Regions from separate parts of the Homo sapiens genome. Here region 1 is linked to region 2. Evidence: promoter capture Hi-C in human tissues and cell types (Jung and others, 2019). All regions are on one chromosome and are shown on one strand. The core of a region is centred on a gene start or on the middle of the fragment in contact, and the rest is flanking DNA. Distances in the headings are between cores, read along the strand shown.

Region 1 (6,331 bases), core at 570-3,069, 190 kb before region 2:
TTAGAATAGACGACTTTATATTATGTACAGTTTTTATATAAATGGAATCATATAGTCTGGCATCTTTCAGGATAATTTTTTCAGATCCATTTATGTTGTAGGGTCCATTTCACTGCTGAATAGTATTCCATTGCAAGGCATACCACAAGCTATTTATCCATGTGTTATTTCTACCTTTTGGCTATTGCAATTAAAACTGCCTTGAATACCCATATGCAGATTATTCTTTAAACATGTGCTTCTGTTTCTTTAAATAGTTAAGAGTGGAATGATCAGATCATATGTTAGTGTACGTTTAAGTTTTTAAGAGACTGCTAAACCTTTCTCAAGTAGTTATGCCATTTGACATTTCCATGAGCAGTATATAAGAGTTGCAATTCTTCTGCATCCTTGCCAATTATTGGTATGGTCAGTCTTTTTTATTTTGACCATTTTAATAGGTGTGTAGTAGTATCTCATGGTTTTAATTTGCATTTCCCTAGTGACTAATGATGTCTTACATGGTTTCACGTGCTTACTGGCCTTCTTTAAGCCTTTGGGGAAGAGTCTGTTCAAATCTTTTGCCTGTTTATATTGGCTTTATTTTTTATTTATTTTTATTTTTTTTTATATAGAGACAGGGTTTTACTCTGTCTCCCAGGCTGAAGTGCGTGGCACGATCATGTGGTTTTGCAATATTTATTGAATTTTGAGAGTTTAAAATTTGTAATATATTTAATATTAAACCTATTAGTGTATTTGATATTAATACTTTATATTTAATATAATGTACATTTAAATATATAATAAAACATTTCATTTTAACAGAGGTAACATAAATACACTTCCCAATTTATGGAGTTTGACTTAGTATTGTTTTTAATTTACAATGGTGCAAACATATTATGCATTCAATATGTTTCTCAATTTATGATGGGGTTACAAATTGTCAACTTATGATAGTTTCAACTTACAATAGGTTTGTCAGGACATAGCCCTGTCATAAGTTGAGGAGTATCTGTATTACAATATATTTAATATGTTGTACTTGTGGTACAAGTACATGGTGCACTTTGAGTTAAAATCTTTATATGGCACAAAGATTGGATCAAAATTTGGGGTTTTTTTTTTCTTTGTATCTCATTGTTCTAGCATCATTTATTGAAAAGACTATCCTTTCTCCACTTAATTGCCTTTGCTTCTTTCTTGAAATATTGGTTGTCTTTATACGTGTGTCTGCTTCTCAACTGTTCTGTTCCATATAGCTACTTATCTTTTATTCCAAGACTACCCTCTCTTGACAACTTCATAACTTTTGAAGTCCGATAGAGTTTAGTCTTCCAGCTTTTTCTTTTCAGAGTTGTCTTTACTATTTTAGGTCAGAGGTTGGCAAAGTTTTTTATAAAAGACCAGATTGTAGAGATTTTAAGCTTTACATGCTATATATAGTTTCTGTTGCATATTATTTTTTCTATTACAGACCTTTTAAAATATAAAAATAGTTCTCACATTCCATTCAACCTATACAGTTATAGGCTGTGAGCCACATTTGGTCTTGATGTGGCTGTACCTTGTTGACTTACAGCTGTTACAGGACTTTCGTATTTCCATATAAAGTTTAGAATCAGGTTGTCAATTTCTACCAGCACCACCCCACACCCCCAAAGTAATTCACTAAGATTTTGATTATCATTGTGTTGAATCTGCAGAATAATTGATGTCTTCACAATATTGAGCATTTCAACCCATGAACATAATATATCTCTCCACTTATTTAGGATTTATAATTTTTTTCTCAGTAGTATTTGTGTTTTTCGGTGTTTGGGTCTTCCTAGGCATTTTTTCTCTGACACTATTGCAAATGGTATTTTAAAAATTTCAATTTCTCTGCTAGTTCACTACTACTATAGAGGAACACAGTTTTTTTACATATATTCATCTTGTATGCTGCACCCTTGTTAATTTGTTCTGGAAGATTTATATTAACATTATACTTAGAATATATTAACATTATAATAAGCTACATAATTTTATTTTTTTATTTTTTAAATTAAAATAGAGATTGGGGTCTCACTATGTTGACCAGTCTTGAACTCCTGGCTTCAAGCGATCCTCCCATCTTGGCCTCCCAAAGTGTTGGGATTACAGGCGTGAGCCACTGAACCTGGCCACAATTTTATTCTTAAATGAAAATAGATCTTTGATATCATCGCCAGATTCATATTTGTTTTTTGTTTTCTTGAGATGGAGTTTTGCTCTTGCTGCCCAGGCTGGAGTGCAGTGGTGCCATCTTGGCTCACTGCAACTTCCACCTCCCAGGTTTAAGTGATTCTCCTGCCTCAGCCTCCCGAGTAGCTGGGATTACAGGCACCCGCCTCCACCCCCAGCTAATTTTTGTATTTTTAGTAGAGACGAGGTTTCGCCATGTTGGCCAGGCTGGTCTTGAATTCCTGACCTCAGGTGATCCACCCACCTCGGCCTCCCAGAGTGTTGGGATTACAGGCATGAGCCATCACGCCCAGCTACCAAATTAATATTCAAATATATGTTGCCATTACAGAGTGATAACTAAGGACACTTTGAGGTATAGGCATAGCTGTGGTAAAAACAGCTCTCTCCAGCTTTGCATCTAAGTTGTAAAATAATTACATTGATGCTTTTAAACCTGCCATGTATAATTTTTCAATGTATTAGCCATTTAATAACTCTGAGACAGCTAACATTTAAATAAATCCCTGTTTGGGAATGGTATTTGAACAAATAATATTGTGAACATATTTGCCAATTTATACTATATTAAGATTCTAAATAATACAGCTATTTAATATATCTTGATAATTAGTATTTGAAATAAATATATTTCTCTGAGTAGCCTTTTGGAAAAAGTGCACAGAATATAGTTTCCAGTCATATGCTACTTTTCTAACTTGCACTTATCTAAACATTTCATCAGGAGAGAGTTCAATAGTACCCGAACCAAAAGTCCAGTGAATCTGACTTACCCAGTCCCCAATTTGGTTTGCATGTCTGCTTACAACCATCATTTCTCTGCAGATTTTCCACTTAGTCTATCAAAAATCAATGGTGCAGCAGTTTTTTGGAGTCTCTGACAACAAAACTCTGTAAATCTGCTTCTTCCAGTGTGAGTGTCTCATCTAACAATCTGAGGATAGGACAAACTGTTGCCAGGGACAGGGGAGGACTTCTTTTGAGATCCTTGGTAGTTTTCAATGAAGTCTTTGATATGGCTTACCCTTCCTACTTGGTGACCCTGTCCTGAAAAGAGCTGGAAGACAGGCTTCGTAGACATATATGTTTCATTTTTCTTGTCTTCAACTTTAACACCCACCTCTTTATCAAAAATTCCCTGTAATTCTGAAGGTAATTCCCCCTTTTTGATGGAGTTCAGAAACTGCTGACTTGCACCATTTGAATAACTTCTGAAATAATTGTTGACGGTGAATCCATTTTTCCATAATTTTATGTTTACGTCTACCTGTTTCTTTTGTTAAGTGGGAGACAAGCATTTGGAACCAACCTTCTGAGCTTCCTCAAAAAGGCTATCAACAAACTATTCACAATTTGTTTATTGATTATCACCAAGACCTTGATTGTCAGGTCCTGTTTCACAAACCCAGTCTTTTATACTTTCGAGATTATCTACGTCTTTCATTCTCTTTTGCGTTACTCCGAGCACAGCCTCCAAGCCTAGGCCTCACTCAGCTCAGGAGCCACCAGCACTGTTTGGCTGCGAGCTCCGTTTGGCTGGAGCCCTTCAGACCCGGAGCGCCTCGCCCGAGACCACCTCCGGTACCCCGGCTGCGCTGCTGATATCCCGCCGGCCTCTCTGTCTCCACCAAGTGCCAAGCGTTCACCCACGCCTGCTGCCTGCAAGACCTGAGGAACGCGCATGGGCTTTTTTTTTTTAAGACAAGTTTCACTCTGTATCCCAGGCTAGAGTGCAGTGGCATGAGCTTGGCTCACTGCAACCTCCGCCTCTCGGGGTCAAGCGATTCTTGTGCCTCACCTTCTGGAGTAACTGGGACTACACGCGTGCACCACCACACCCAGCTAAATTTTTCTGTATTTTTAGTAGAGCCAGGGTTTCGCCATGTTGCCCAGGCTGGTCTAGAACTCCTAGGTTCAAGCGATCCACCTGCCTCGGCCTCCCAAAGTGGTGGGATTATAGACGTGAGCCACCGCACCCAGCTTCTGGCAGCTTTTTAGTAGGTTCTATCATATTTTCTACTAGGACAATTCTGTTGTCTGCATATAAAATTTTTTACTTCTTCCTTTCCAATCTGTATGCGTTTTGTATTTTTCTTGTTACATTAACCAGAACCTGCAGTGTATTGTTAAATAGAAATTGAGAGACTAGACATTCTTGTCTTGTTTCTGGTCTTGGGAGTAAATCATTGAATCTTTTACCATTTAGTAACTATCTTTTTAATCTTTTTTTTGATAACACCTATTGGGTGGGAAACAGTATTTGTAGTTTTTTATTTTTATTTCCCTGGTGGCTAAAGATTTTTATTATTTTTTTTTTCTGGGCTTAGCTCGCCTGAAAACTAAAGATATTGATCATCTTTTCATCAGTTTGTTGACTATGTATCTGTCTTCTTTGGGAGAATGTCTATTTAGATCCTTTGCCATTTTTAAATTGAGTTCTTTTCATTATTGGGTTTCAAGAGCCCTATAAATTCTAGGTACAAATACCATATCAAATAAATCGTTTACAAGTATTTTCTTTCATTCTTTGTGTTGTCCTTTCACTTTCTTGATGATATCCTTTCGAGTGTAAAAGTTTTAAGTTTATTTTTTTCTTATGCTTTTGGTGTCAAATCTGAGAAACCATTGCCTAACCCAAGGTCGTGAAGTCTTTTATATTTTCTTCTAGGATTTTTATAGTTCTAGCTCTTAAAGTTAGTTCTATGATCCATTTTGAACTAATATTTGTGCATGCTGTGAACAGTGTATCCAGCTTCATTCTTCTGCATGTAACACCCAGTTACCCTAGCATATGTGTTGAAAAGACTGTTTATCCCATTGAATTGTCTTGGCACTCTTGTCAAAAATCAGTTAACCATAAATGTAAAGGCTTATTTATTTGTTTTGAGACTGGGTCCTGCTCTGTTAACCCAGGTTGGAGTGCTGTGGTGTGATCTTGGCTCACTGCAGCCTTGACCTCCCAGGCTCAAGTGATCCTCCTCCTTGAGCTTCCCAAGTAGCTGGGACTACAGGTATACACCACCACGCCTGGCTAATTTTTGTATTTCTTGTAGAGACAGGGTTTCATTTTGTTGCCCAGACTGGTCTTGAACTCCTGGGCTCAAGCAATCCTCCTGCCTCTGTCTCCCAAAGTGCTGGGATTACAGATGTGAGCCACTGTGCCCAGCATTAAGATTTATTTCTAGACTCTCAGTTCACCTCCATTGTACATGTCTAACCTGTTTGTAACCACACTGTCCTGATTACTGTAGCTTTAGAGTAATTTTTGAAATTGGGAAGTGCGAGCCCTTCTGTGATCCTTTTTGCAATGCACGGGTTAAGGTTACTTTTGGAGGTGGTAGAAGGGATACGAATGTTTTAATTTTTTTTTGCACGACAGTTGGTTGAAAACAGTCTTTTCTCTATTGGATTATTTGTACCTTTTTTGAAAATGAAATTGATGACTTATGTTTAAATCTATTTCTGGGATCTATTCCGTTTCAGCTAATCTATGTGTCTGTCCTTTTGCTAATACTACACTTTTTTTTTTTGAGACAGAGTCTCACTGTATCACCCAGACTGGAGTGCAGTGGTACCATCTCAGCTCACGGCAGCTTCCACCTCCCAGGTTCAAGCAATTCTTGTGCCTCAGCCTCCCGAGTAGCTGGGACTTGTGCCTGAGCCTCCCAAGTAGCTGAGACTATAGGTGCGTGCCACCACAGCTGGCTAACTTGTGTTTGTAGTAGAGACAGGGTTTCACCATGTTGGCCAGGTTGGTTTCAACCTCTTGGCCTCAAGTGATCCACCCACCTCAGCCTCCCAAAGTGCTGGGATTACAGGCGCGAGCCACCGCATCTGGCCTGCGGATACTATACATTTTTGATTATGGTAGCTGTCTAGTAAATCTTGAAAGCAAGTGGTGCGAGAGTTCCAACATTGACCTTAATTTTCAGAATCATTTGGGATGGTCCGTGTTTTTTGTTTTTTCACGTAAATTTTTTTTTTTTTTTTTTTTTTTTTTTGAGACGGAGTCTCGCTCTGTCACCCAGGCTGGAGTGCAGTGGTGCAATCTCAGCTCACTGCAAGCTCTGCCTCCCGGGTTTACGCCATTCTCCTGCCTCAGCCTCCTGAGTAGCTGGGACTA
Region 2 (6,660 bases), core at 473-2,972:
AGGAGTTCAAGACCGGCCTAACCAACACGGTGAAACTCCATCTCTACTAAAAATACAAAAATTAGCCGGGCGTGGTGTGCGGCTGTAATCCCAGCTACTCAGGAGGCTGAGGCAGGAGAATCGCTTGATCCTGGGAAATGGAAGTTGCAGGGAGCTGAGATCACACCACTGCACTCCAGCCTAGGTGACAGAGCAAGACTCTGTCTCAAAAAAAAAATAATAATAATAATAATGACAATCATTAATTAATCAAACATGAAACAGTGGCTCAAACAATCACCTACAGAATGGGAGTCAAATGATGATAAACAGTGAAAGTTCCGCAGTTCATTATCCATGAACCAAATTCACAAAAACTCTATAGGCCTCCTTCTACCAATAAGACTAAAACCCTAAAGTCACAAAAACCACAGTTCTGGACTCCTGGTATAGATCACACCTACTCCCAGGGGTCTCAAACTAGGGGTCCTAGGGCTGACTAGGCCCACAAATATTCAGTTTGGTGGCATCTGTATAGAATATTTAACTCTTTTTTTTTTTTTTTTTTTGGAGAGATGGAGTCTTGCTATGTTGCCCAGGCTGGTCTTAAACTCCTGGGCTCAAGAGATCTTCCTGCCTCAGCCTCTCAAAGTGCTGGGATCACAGGTGTGAGCCACTGTACCCAGCCAGCTTTTTTTTTTTTTCATTGATATACAATCAATGTAGCTTAAAATGCACACATCCTTCGTTTCTCTTTTTTTTCTTTTGAGACGGAGGCTCACTCTGTCTCCCAGGCTGGAGTGCAGTGGCACGATCTCAGCTCACTGCAACGTCCGCCTCCTGGGTTCAAGTGATTCTCCTGCCTTAGTCTCCCAAATAGCTGAGATTCCAAGACCCCACCACCACGCTCGGCTAATTTTTTTTCTATTTTTAGTAGAGACGGGGTTTCACCATCTTAGCCAGGCTGGTTTCAAACTCCTTAATCCAACCATCCTGTTCATTGTAAATTTGATTATTGTGATACTAGAATAATAAAGCCTTCATCCTTTCCCTCTGGAGGTCTGATTAAGAAGCTCTCTTGGGATGTACAGGCCTAGGAACTCCATTCGAAGATAATGAATTATTATTCTTAGTATTCTTTAGCAGAAAGACTTGCGGTCTACAAACGTTTATATTCACATACACAAATACGCACACCCTATAAACCTAAAAAGCATCTTTATCTTTCGCCATGAAAGTAATGGTCAAAAATAAAACACAACACAATAAGACGAAACCAAACTTACAGATGAAACATTCGTTTGCATAAGAGAAGACAGAAAAGGCCCCCTAGAACCAACTTTCACCCAGTGCTCACCGGAACACTCAGAAATCGCCAGGTCCCTGAACCGGGAAGATCCTGGGGACGGAGCCAACGCGGATGCAAAAGGCAGCAATTATTTTCCTGCCGGAAAAAAATTCACAAACGCTGCTTTGGAGGCCTTTGGAGAGGGGCGCACAGATGAAAACACCCTGCGGACACCGTAACTATAAACCCGACTCCTCCCGAGGAGCGACGGTCCGAGCGGACGCTAGCGGGCCCAGCAGACACGAGCAGAGCGGGCCAGGCCTCTCTAACGTCCGGGCCAAACCCGTCCTTCACCCCAAAACCAGTTCATCTCCTCGGAACTCACCCAGGCCAGTGAGGCCTTAACTCTGAAAGGCAAAAAGACTCTCAGGCGCTCACAGCCGGCGTCACAAAAGGAACGGCGCACCGCTGACGTCATTTACGCTCTCCGCCTCGGGCCAGGCGGGGTTTCGGGACTAGGGTTTCTGCCGTGTAATACCTCCTCGAGGCAGAAAAATTCTACTTTCCATCTGCTTGGCTGCGGAGGACCTTGGGGTGGGCTCAGCGTGGGGGCTGCAGGCAGAAATGGGTCCAGAAGGCAAGGTCGAGGTTAGAGCCAAGCCTGTGGGCAGGGCTACGGGCAGGGGGCGGGGAGGAATGTGGGTCCAGGCCCAGAGGAAAAGGTTGAAGTTATAGCCAGGCCTGTGGGCGAGGCCGCAGCAGGGCGGCCATAGGGGAAGGAGCCAATGTGTTATGCATGTAGAAAATAGGTAACTACGTCTTTTGCTCTGTTACTATTTCAACATTTGATGTAAAAAACATTTTCTATGCAGCTAAAAGAATTGTTTTTAAAAATAATTTCTAGGTTTTCTGCCTTGCTTTAAAACATCTTTTCTTTTTTTTTGAGACAAAATCTCACTCTGTCACCAAGGCTGGAGTTCAGTGGAGCCATCTCAGCTCACTGCAACCTCCACCTCCCAGGTTCAAGCGATTCTCCTGCCTCATCCTCCCAAGTAGCTGGAATTACAGGTGCATGCTGCCACACCCTGCTAATTTTTGTATTTTTAGTAGAGGCAGGGTTTTGCCATGCTGGCCAGGCTGGTCTTGAACTACTTGTCAGGCCTCTGAGCCCAAGTTAAATCATCATAAACCCTGTCACCTGCACGTATACATCCAGATGGCCTGGAGCAACTGAAGAACCACAAAAGAAGTGAAACAGCCAGTTCCTGCCTTAACTGATGACGTTCCACCATTGTGATTTGTTGCTGCCCCACCCCAACTGATCTCTTGACCTTGTGACATTCTTCTTCTGGACGAGTCTCAGGAGTTCCCCACCGAGCACCTTGTGACCCCCGGCCCTGCCAGCAAAAGATAACCACCTTTAACTTTCCACTACCTACCCAAATCCTATAAAACTGCCCCACCCCTATCTCCCTTTGCTGACCCCTTTCTCGGACTCAGCCCACTTGCACCCAAGTGAATAAACAGCCTTGTTGCTAACACAAAGCCTATTGGTGGTCTCTTCACATGGATGTGTGTAACATTTGGTTCCGAAACCTGGGACAGGGGGACTCCCTTGGGAGACTGGCCCCGTCCTCACCCTCACTCCGTGAGGAGCTCCACCTACTACCTCGGGTCCTCAGACTAGCCCAAGGAACATCTCACCAATTTCAAATTGGGTAAGCAGTCTCTTCACTCTCTTCTCCAGCCTCTCTCACTACCCTTCCATCTCTCTGTCCTTCCAATTCCAGTTCTTTTTCCTCTCCAGTAGAGACAAAGGAGACACATTTTATCTGTGGACCCAAAACTCCAGCTCCAGTCACGGACTCAGGAAGACAGTCTTTCCTTGGTGGCTAATCACTGTAGGGATACCTGCCTGATTATTCACCTACATTCCATTGGTGTCTGATCACTGTGGGGATGCCTGCCTTGATCATTCACCCACATTCCCTTGGTGGCAAGTCAATTGCAGGGCTGCCTGCTTTGGCTGCTTACCCACATTACAGCCCAGGGCTGCTCACCCCCACCCCACTCCACTGCCTTCTCCATGTCTCTACCTTTCTCTTTAAACTTACCTCCTTCACTATGGGCAATCTTCTGCCCTCCATTCCCTGTTCTTCTCCCTTAGCCTGTGTTCTCAAGAACTTAAAACCTATTCAACTCACACCTGACCTAAAACCTAAATACCTTATTTTCTTCTGCAACACCACTTGGCCCCAGTACAAACTTGACAATGGTTCTAAATGGCCAGAAAATGGCACTTTTGATTTCTCCATCCTACAAGATCTAGATAATTTTTGTCATAAAATGGGCAAATGGTCTGAGATGCCTGACATCCAGGCATTCTTTACACATTGGTCCGTCCCTAGTCTTTGCTCCCAATGTGACTCATCCCAAATCTTTCTTGTTTCTTTCTTGTCCTTTGAATCCTCCTTTTCTATGGACCCATCTGACCTCTCCCCTCCCCCTCAGGCTGCTCCTCGCCAAGCTGAGCCAGGTCCTAACGTATCCAGAATTGGTGGGTTCTTGGTCTCACTGACTTCAAGAATGAAGCCGTGGACCCTCGCGGTGAGTGTTACAGTTCTTAAAGGCGGCGTGTCTGGAGTTTGTTCCTTCTGATGTTCGGATGTGTTCAGAGTTTCTTCCTTCTGGTGGGTTTGTGGTCTCGCTGGCTCAGGAGTGAAGCTACAGACCTTTGCGGTGAGTGTTACAGCTCTTAAAGGCAGCATGGACCCAAAGAGTAAGCAGTAGCAAGATTTATTGCAAAGAGCAAAAGAACAAAGCTTCCACAGCGTGGAAGGGGACCCAAGGGGGTTGCCACTGCTGGCTCAGTAGCCTGCTTTTATTCTCTTATCTGGCCCTACCCACATCCTGCTGATTGGTAGAGCCGAGTGGTCTGTTTTGACAGGGTGCTGATTGGTGTGTTTACAAACCTTGAGCTAGATACAGAGTGCCAATTGGTGTTTCCACAATCCCTGAGCTAGACATAAAGGTTCTCCACATCCCCACCAGACTCAGGAGCCCAGCTGGCTTCACCCAGTGGATCCCGCACTGGGGCTGCAGGTGGAGCTGCCTGCCAGTCCCGCGCCATGTGCCCGCACTCCTCAGCCCTTGGGTGGTTGATGGGACTGGGCACCATGGAGCAGGGGGGAGCTCTCATCAGGGAGGCTCGAGCTGCACAGGAGCCCATGGAGGGGGTGGGAGGCTCAGGCATGGCGGGCTGCCAGTCTTGAGCCCTGCCCTGTGGGAAGGCAGCTAAGGCCTGGCGAGAAATCAAGCGCAGCACCAGTGGGCTGGCACTGCTAGGGGACCCAGTACACCCTGTGCAGCTGCTGGCCTGGGTGCTAAGCCCCTCATTGCCTGGGGCCAGCAGGGCCGGCCAGCTGCTTCGAGTGCAGCCGCCAAGCCCACGCCCACCTGGAACTCCAGCTGGCCCGCAAGCACCATGCACAGCCCCAGTTCCCGCTCGCGCCTCTCCCTCCACACCTCCCTGCAAGCTGAGGGAGCTGGCTCCAGCCTTGGCCAGCCCAGAAAGGGGCTCCCACAGTGCAGCAGTGGGCTGAAGGGCTCCTCAAGTGCCGCCAAAGTGGAAGCTCAGGCAGAGGAGGCGCCAAGAGTGAGCGAGGGCTGTGAGGACTGCCAGCACGCTGTCACCTCTCACTAATTCTTCCTCAGCCTCTGCTCCCTACCCTGTGATCTTTCTATCACCTCCCCTTCTCACACCCGGTCCAGCTTACAGTTTCATTCCATGACTAGCCCTCCCCCACCTGCCCAACAATATCCTCTTAGAGAAGTGGCTGGAGCTGAAGGCATAGTCGAGGTTAATGCTCCTTTTTCTTCATCCAACCTCTCCCAAGTCAGTTAGCATTTAGGCTCTTTTTCATCAAGTATAAAAACCCGGCCCAGTTCATGGCCTGTTTGGCAACAACCCTTAGACAGTTTACCACCCTAGAACCAGAGAGGCCAGAAGGCCATCTTATTCTCAATATGCATTTTATTCTCAATATGCATTTTATTACCCAATCTGCTCCCAAGACTAGAAAAAGCTCCAAAAATTAGATTCTGACCCTCAACCCCCACAACAGGACTTAATTAACCTCACCTTGAAGGTGTACAATAATAGAGAAGAGGCAGCCAAGTGGCGTTGTATTTCTGAGTTGCAATTACTTGCCTCTGCTGTGAGATAAACCCCAGCCACATCTCCAGCACATAAGAACTTCAAAATGCCTAAACCACAGAGGCCAGGTGTTCCTCCAGGACCTCCTCCCTCAGGTTCTTGCTTTAAGTGCTGGAAATCTGGCCACTGGGCCAAGGAATGCCCGCAGCCCAGGATTCCTCCTAAGCCATGTCCCATCTGTGGGACCCCACTTGAAATCGGACTGTCCAACTCACCTGGCAGCCACTACCAGAGCCACTGGAACTCTGGCCCAAGGCTGTCTGACTGACTCCTTCCCAGATCTTCTCGGCTTAGCAGCTGAAGACTGACACTGCCCGATCACCTCGGGAGCCTCCTGGACTATCACAGATGCTTTGGGTAACTCTTACAGTGGAGGGCAAGTCTGTCCCCTTCTTAATCAATACAGAGGCTACCCACTCCACATTACCTTCTTTTCAAGGGCCTGTTTCCCTTGCCTTCATAACTGCCGTGGGTATTGATGGCCAGGCTTCTAAACCTCTTAAAAATCCCCAACTCTGGTGCCAACTTGAACAACTTTCTTTTATGCACTCTTTTTAGTTATCCCCACCTGCCCAGCTCCCTTATTAGGTCAAGACATTTTAACTAAATTCTCTGCTTCCCTCACTATTCCTGGGCTATAGCCACACCTCATTGCCACCCTTTTCCCCAGTTCAAAGCCTCCTTTGCCTCCTCCCCTTGTGTCTCACTACCTTAATCCACAAGTATGGGATACCTCTACTCCCTCCTTAGCAACTGATCATGCACCCCTTATCATCCCTTGGGGGTAAAACCTAATCACCCTTACCCTGCTCAATGCCAATATCCCATCCCACAACAGGATTTGAGGGGACTAAAGCCTGTTATCACTTCCCTGTTACAGCATGACCTTTTAAAGCCTACAAACTCTCCTTACAACTCTCCTATCCTACCTGTCCAAAAACTGGACAAGTCTTACAGGCTGGTCCAGGATCTTTGCCTTATCAACCAAATTGTCTTGCCTATCCACCCCATGGTGCCAAACCCATATACTCTCCTATCCTCAATACCTCCCTCCTCAACCCATTATTCTGTTCTGGATCTCAAAGATGCTTTCTTTACTATTCCTTTACACCCTTAATCCCAGCCTCTCTTCACTTTAACTTGGACTGACCCTGACACCCGTCAGTCTCAGCAACTT

The links. The method cuts DNA at HindIII sites, captures the fragments that hold promoters and counts their contacts. A contact is called where the count stands out against the background at its distance.
Region 1: a contact is called between a fragment that was not itself captured here and the fragment with the promoter of ZNF426 in region 2, in 1 of the 25 tissues and cell types used here (adrenal gland).

What each region holds. Positions count from the first base shown.
Region 1 is chr19:9,345,059-9,351,389 of GRCh38, forward strand. ZNF559 (zinc finger protein 559) reads left to right here. Exons shown (of 7, transcript NM_032497.3): 7 at 1-813. The region is part of intron 6 of ZNF559-ZNF177 (ZNF559-ZNF177 readthrough); the gene reads left to right. It also overlaps the pseudogene UBXN2AP1. Among named protein-coding and RNA genes, the nearest start is that of ZNF177, 15 kb to the right of the region's middle. The HindIII fragment of the contact is 7,820 bases long and covers 1-5,729 here.
Region 2 is chr19:9,536,923-9,543,582 of GRCh38, forward strand. ZNF426 (zinc finger protein 426) reads right to left here and starts at 1,723. Exons shown (of 8, transcript NM_024106.3): 1 at 1,653-1,723; 2 at 1,337-1,423. It overlaps ZNF426-DT (ZNF426 divergent transcript), which reads left to right and starts at 1,744. Exons shown (of 2, transcript NR_134921.1): 1 at 1,744-2,076; 2 at 2,484-2,808. RefSeq lists enhancers at 1,029-1,764, 1,771-1,820, 2,021-2,090, 2,745-3,944. The HindIII fragment of the contact is 15,089 bases long and covers 1-6,044 here.